2 separate regions of the Homo sapiens genome follow, and region 1 is linked to region 2. Evidence: promoter capture Hi-C in 16 types of primary human blood cells and fetal thymus (Javierre and others, 2016). All regions are on one chromosome and are shown on one strand. The core of a region is centred on a gene start or on the middle of the fragment in contact, and the rest is flanking DNA. Distances in the headings are between cores, read along the strand shown. Region 1 holds the start of RNF135 (ring finger protein 135). Region 2 overlaps NF1 (neurofibromin 1).

What was found. The method cuts DNA at HindIII sites, captures the fragments that hold promoters and counts their contacts. A CHiCAGO score of 5 or more calls a contact.
Region 1: a contact is called between the fragment with the promoter of RNF135 here and a fragment that was not itself captured in region 2, in 3 of 17 cell types (megakaryocytes, M2 macrophages and endothelial precursors). The highest score is 9.1, in megakaryocytes.

Annotation. Positions count from the first base shown.
Region 1 is chr17:30,968,719-30,972,336 of GRCh38, reverse strand. RNF135 (ring finger protein 135) reads right to left here and starts at 1,298. Exons shown (of 5, transcript NM_032322.4): 1 at 892-1,298. The coding sequence starts at 1,263. RefSeq lists enhancers at 483-732, 761-1,322, 1,423-1,672, 1,323-1,884, 1,953-2,012 and 1 more and a silencer at 803-1,342. The HindIII fragment of the contact is 12,676 bases long and covers 683-3,618 here.
Region 2 is chr17:31,210,224-31,213,542 of GRCh38, reverse strand. All of the region lies in intron 12 of NF1 (neurofibromin 1), which reads right to left. Among named protein-coding and RNA genes, the nearest start is that of OMG, 85 kb to the left of the region's middle. The HindIII fragment of the contact is 4,171 bases long and covers 1-3,319 here.

The DNA.
Region 1 (3,618 bases), core at 49-2,548, 240 kb after region 2:
TCGAGACCATCCTGGCTAACAACGGTGAAACCCCGTCCCTATTTTTTAAAAAAAGAAAAAAACATACAAAAAATTAGCCAGGCGTGGTGGCGGGCGCCTGTAGTCCCAGTTACTCGGGAGGCTGAGGCAGGAGAATGGCGTGAACCCGGGAGGCGGAGCTTGCAGTGAGACAAGATGGCGCCACTGCACTCCAGCCTGGGCCACAAAGCAAAACTCCGTCTCAAAAAAATAAAAGGTTAAAATGAGGCCAGGCGCTGTGGCTCATGACTGTAATCCCAGCACTTTGGGAGGCCGAGGCGGACGGATCATCTGTGGTCAAGAGTTTGAGACTAGCCTGGCTAACATGTCGAAACCCCGTCTCTACTAAAAATACCAAAATTAGCCGGGCGTGATGGCGCACGCCTGTAATCCCAGCTACTCTCGAGCCTGAAGCAAGAGAATCACTCGACCCTGGGGGGCGGAGGTTGCAGTGAGCCGAGATCACGCACGCCATTGCACTCCATCCAGCCTGGGCGACAGAGCGAGACTCCGTCTCAAAGAAATAAAGAAAAAGGTTAAAATGGCCAGTTTTAATGTTATATAGATCTTACCACAATTTTACAAGTTTCAGAGAAAGAGACCGAAGATCGATTGGGAAGAAGTTGAAATATGCCAAGCTGTGTAACAGCTAAGTTGACAAGCTTTCGGAAGATGGGGAATTTGTTTTTTTCTACTTCTTCATACTTTTATGAACTTTCCAAAGTGCCTCCGAAGAGCGGAACTCGACTTTTAGACTGAGAAAAGGAACGTAAAAGTAGAACGGCTGAGGAAAGGGGTTCGAGCCACATGGGAAAGGGTCAGGCGGCGGGCAGCCCGGGGGAGCCAGGGGAGCTGCGGGCCCGGCCTCCCTACCCGCTGCAGTTCCGGGCGGCGCCGGGGCCTCGCGGCCGCGCTGGAGAGGGAACTGGAGCCCGGGCAGGGGCAGTGGGCAGGGTCGGAGCCCGCCTGTATCTCGCGTGCGGCGCGGCGGTACTTGTCGGCCAGGTCCTGCAGTAGCGTGTTCTTCCGCAGGTGCGGCTGCTGCGCGGCGCCCTGGCGGCAAGTGGGGCAGGCCCAGCGGCGGGCGTCGCGGGCGCCCCACAGGGCCTCCAGGCAGTGGCGGCAGAAGCTGTGGCCGCAGGGCAGCGTGGCGGGCCAGTCCAGCAGCCCCTGGCAGATGATGCAGCCGAGGTCGTCCTCGGCCAGCCACACGGGAACGGCGGAGCCCAGGCCCAGGCCCGCCATGGCCAACAGGCGGCCGGGGCGCGGACGTCGGGGTTGAGCCGGGCGAGTCTCCTCAGGCTCCTCCCTCGCCCTTCCTCTTCCCCTTGCCCTCCTCCTTTTCTCGGCCGCCTTTTCTCCTCCTTCCTTGGCGCCACCCCGTCTCCTTCCTCCGATCCTGCTGAAAACAGACTTAGAGCCTCCAGTGCCCAGCTGGAAAGACAGAGCTGACCTTCAGTGGCGGCCTCTTGCCCTGGGAAACCAACATGCCGCGAGCTGCTAGAAACCCGCGGAGGTCTCCAAGATTCCCTTTAGCTGGATGTCCCTCCATTAAGATGCAGCACCGTTGGATGTCTTCGTCCGTTGGCTTAAAAAAAAATAAACAACAAAAAAGATGCAACACCGACAACTCTTGGGAGGAGAGGACTCCATTCAGCAGCTTATTTATGAGAATGAGCCCACGAAGTGTCATCCAGCTCCTCTAACAAGTAGCAGGGGATTAAAGATCACCGATGCACAGCCACAGGGAGCGTCCTCAAAAATGCTGATGTTCGGCCCCGCTCGCAGGGAGTCTGATTTCATTGTCTTGGGTGGAGCACGGGTATTTTGTAAAACCTCCCCCAGGTGATTCTGACGCGCATTCAAGGTTGAGTGAGCGAACCCTTGGCTTTTTAACTCGCAGGTATAATGCAGAGTTGTGCGCTGTGTCCTTACCGCCTTCTGCGGGATGTAAGCGCGTTTCCCAACAGACACTCGGACAAAATTCTAGAAAGTGTTTTCCTGAGAAGGCTCACTCACTCACTCACTTCGCATCCCAGTCCTAAACGCATTGCAACCAGAAAATGTTAGAGCTAAAAGAGCACCACGTCCTCCCAGATGACCCAAAGAGGTTAAAAAAAAAAAAAAGAGAAAAAAGAAAAACTTGCAGGCTCTCATGGTAACAATGAAGCGTCAGAGACTAAAACCCACAACTCCCCAATCTGTTGAAATGAACTAACAACGTCTCATGCTTTACTTTATCCTTTCTGGCCTGGGCTCAAAGTAGGTATCAGATAATACAAGTTTGTAGCCGACCTTTGGATCACTTGAAGTCAGGAGTTCAAGACCAGCCTGGCCAACATGGTGAACCCTCATCTCTACTGAAAATACAAAAAGAAAAGAAAAGAAAAGCCAGGCGCCCTGGCGCATGCCTGTAATCCCAGCTACTTGGGAGGCTGAGGCAGGAGAATCTCTTGAACCCGGGAGGCGGAGGTTTCAGTGAGCCAAGACTGCGCCACTGCACTCCAGCCTGGGCGACATAGGGAGACTCCGTCTCAAAAAAAAAAAAAAAAAAAAAAAGAAAAAAAAGAAAGAAAAGAAAGAAAAAAAAGCGTTTGTGGTTATTTCTAATACTGGAAGTGTCATGGAGTAGGCAGCGCTGCTCATCAACGTTTCCAGTGCTTTCCCTTTCTGGGCACATGGTAGGACTGGCACTTCCCTGACCCACTTGAAACACACAGAGGTAATATGTTACTTCCCACCAGCTTTAAAGGCGACTGAGCCGGCCATTGTATCCCTTTCTGCCAGCTGCCCCAATTATGGAGATGAAACCATCATCCGGTGACCTGGGTCACTGAGTGGCTAAGATGAGCAGACTCCCTGCCAACGCACCCTAGGATACGTAGTAAGAGGGAGAAGAAAACTAGGATGTATTCAGCTTACTGAGATTTAGTGGGTGTGTGCTGCTACAGCATAACCTAGCCTATCCTGACTGATGTATTACCTGGATCTTGTTCTAGAATCTCCGCATCGGAGTAAAATCGTAGTTTCTAAGAGCCTCTTTTTTTCTGTAAAACGGGCATGATACTAAACACTTAAACATGCTCAGATCTTCCAACTTAAAAAATGAAATCACTGGCGGGGCGTGGTGGCTTATGCCTGTAATCTCAGCACTTTGGGAGGCTGAGGCAGGTGGATTGCCTGAACTCAGGAGTTCGAGACCTGCCTGAGCAACATGGTGAAACCTTGCCTCTACAAAAAAAATACAAAAACTACCTAGACATGGTAGCGCAGGCCTGTGATCCCAGCTACTCAGGAGACTGAGGTGGGAGGATTGCTTGAGCCAGGGAGGTGGAGGCTGTAATGAGCCATGAGATCTCAGGAGGTCAAGACTGTGGTTAGCTGTGATCACACCACTTCACTCCAGCCTGGGGAAGGAGCTAGACCTAGTCTCAAAAAAATTAAAAATTAAAAAATAAAATAAAATCACCTTTGACCTGAGCCTCCCTGGAACCAGCTCTCCTCTTCTCCATTTCACAGCCAAGTTTCTGGAAAGAGTGAGTTAACCAGTAGTTTTCAAACTTTTTTCTTGGACACGCCCTAAAAGTTTTATGCAAAATC
Region 2 (3,319 bases), core at 195-2,694:
TATAATACAGAAATAACAAGACTGTGTACCAACTGTGGACCCATAATACAAATGTCCAGGTAAACAGGCTGTCTTTCAAAGTTAAGAAGCAGACATGCATATCTACAACACAAATGAACTATCCTCAATGTTTAAGTGAAATATGCATTTGTTATTATACCCAAGAACACCGAAGGGTTTTAGTCCTTGCGGGGAAGAATAGCTATTTAATGCACACATTTATACTCAAGAATGTCACTACAGAAGAGAAATAGCAAAACTTCCAAATAGTTTGCTTTTTATAACTGCCCCCTGACCCCAAAGCAAATGTTTTACTAAATGATTTAATAAATTCTGGTTTTACTGTTTGCTCTCTTTCAACTGTATTTTTTTCCTCACTCTAAGTTGAGGTGTTTCACCTCAGATCAAGCTGAAACTTTGATTAAACGAATTTATTTACTTTGATGTAACTAAGTGTAACTATCAAATGGCTCTTCCCTGATGCAGCCATTGCACAGGAACACAAGATCAGAGAACAATGAGCAGGTATCAGAATTTTTCCTTAAGAATCATTTCCAAAAAACGTAAATAGAGTCATATGCCACAAAACAACATTTCAGTCAATGATAGACAATATGTAACATAGCTGAAAAATTCCTATCACTTAGTATCATAGCCATCGTGATGTCCAAGCACAATGCGTTATTGTTTGTAGTGATGCTGGTGTAAACAAATCTTCACTTCTAGTCATATAAAAAAAAAGTATAGCACATACAATTATGTACAGTATACAATACTTGATGAGAATAAATAACTGTTACTGGTTTATGTATTTATTATAATATATATATTTTGAGACCAAGTCTCACTTTGTTGCCCAGGCTGGAGTGCAGTGGCGCGATCTCGGCTAACTGCAACCTCTGCCTCCCGGGTTCAGGCAATTCTCCTGCCTCAGCCTCCCAAGTAGCTGGGACTACAGGCATGCACCACCACGCCCAGCTAATTTTTTTCTATTTTTAGTAGAGAAGAGGTTTTGCCATGTTGGCCAGGCTGGTCTCGACTCCTGATCTCAGGTGATCCACTTGCCTTGGCCTCCCAAAGTGCTGGGACTACAGGCGTGAGCCACCAGGCCCAGCCTACTATAGTATACTTTGTATTGTTATACTCCTACTTAAAGATAAAAAGTTAACTATGAAACACAGCCTCAGAAGGTCCTTCAGTAGGTATTCCAGAAGAAGGCATTGTTACCACAAGAGATGACAGCTCCACACGTTATTTCCCCTAAAAACCTTCCAATGGGAGCAGATGTGGAGGTGGAAGACAGTAACACTGATTGATGATCTTGACCCCATGTAGGCCTAGGCTAACGTGTATGTTTGTGTCCCAGATCTTAAAACAGTTTTCAAAATAAAAATTAAAATAGAACATTTTCAAATAGAAAAAACTTACAGGATATAAAGAAAAATATTTTATACAGCTAGCTATACAAAGTGTTTTAAGCTAAGTGTTATTACAAGTCAAAAAATTAAAAAATTTAAAAGTTTATATTTTAAAAGCTACTGTAAAGTTATCATATAAAAATATTTTTTATAAATTTGATATAGCTTAAGTGTAGTGTTTATAAAGTCTACAGTATAGATCCTGAGTATGAGAAAAATGCAAAAGTATTAAAAGTAAAATAAATTTAAAAAAATTTTAAGTCTACAGTAGTGTAATGTCCTAGGCTTCACATGCACTCAACACTCACTCAATGACTCACCCACAGCAACTTCCAGTCCTGCAAACTCCATTTGTGTTAAGTGTCCTATACATTTTTTTCTTTTATACTGTATTGTTACTGCACCTTTTCTGTTTGAATAAACAAATACTTACCATTGTGCTACAACTGCCTAAGGTATTCAGTACAGTAACATGCTGTTTAGTCTAGGTTTGCAGCCTAGGAGCAGTAGGCTAGACCATATATCCTAGGTATGTAGCAGGCTATATAACCATCTAGGTTCATGTAAGCAGACTCTATGATGTTTGCACAATGACTGAATCACTAAGGATGCACTCATTTCTCAAGACATGTCCCTGTCATTAAGTGATGTATGACTATATTAGTTTAATTATGTCACCTCTTAATCCCAAATATCAACATGTAAATTCTGTTCCAACATGGTTGCCTAATATGAAATGTATGACTTCAGAAATTCCAATAAATTTAATTCATCTCAAATACCTTTTAATTTTAGTGGGTTACAGAAAGTGAGGAAAAACATGCTAAAGAAGCAATGTGTTTCTTAATTAGAAATGTAAGAAAAAAATTCATTCATTCATTAGTTGATCTTCTATATTGCAGGTATTAGTAGGAATAGAAGCTGGTACATGTGATCTGGCCAAAGATGAGAGGCAATCATGTCTGGGAAGAAATTCATGAACCAGAGTCTTCAGATATCTATTAAAGGCCCAAACCACTTGTTAATTTAGACCATGTGACTGAATAACAGGCATGTAAGAAAGATCTGGTGAGCCAGCATGCCACTTAAGATAAAAAATGTTGAGAAATAACAAATACTTGTGAAAATTCATATATCTGTTATTGGCAGTTTTGAATTTTATGAAAGCAGGAGATGTTAGTTTGCAAATAGTAAAATCAGTGCTAAGACAAACATTTCAAATATTAAAAAAATACTACAAAGGTACAAAGGAGAAGTTATGGCTCAACATTCATATAAAAAGGGCCAAAGAGTTTAAATAACTAAAAAGTCAACATAAAATAATAATACTATCTTAGATTGTATTAATAGAAACAGGGTATACAAACACAGCAGTTTAATAGCTTTTATCAATTATTACATCATAGTATTATATCTGTATCACTAACATCAGATCTTAATATGGCATTTTAATTTTAAAAATTTTTGTCAGGTTGGTCTTTCCAGAAGAGAAGCAAATCAGAAACAGGAGGGTTTTTTGTTTTTTGTTTTTGTTTCTTTGAGACAGAGTCTCGCTCCGTTGCCCAGGCTGACAGTGCAGTGACACAATCTTGGCTCACTGCAACCTCCGCCTCCCGGGTTCAAGCAATTCTCCTGCCTCAGCCTCCTGAGTAGCTATAACTACAAGTGCCTGCCACCACGCCTGCCTAATTTTTTTGCATTTTTAGTAGAGACAAGGTTTCACCATGTTGGCCCAGTTGGTCTCAAACTCCTGGTCTCAAGTGACCTGCCCGCCCCGGCCTCCCTAAGTGCTGGTATTATAGGCATGAGCCACTGTGCCCGGCCTGTACGAGGATTTTGAAACCACATCAAGTAAGAAATTCATTCCTTCATTCATTCTGCAAACATGTACTAAATGCCCA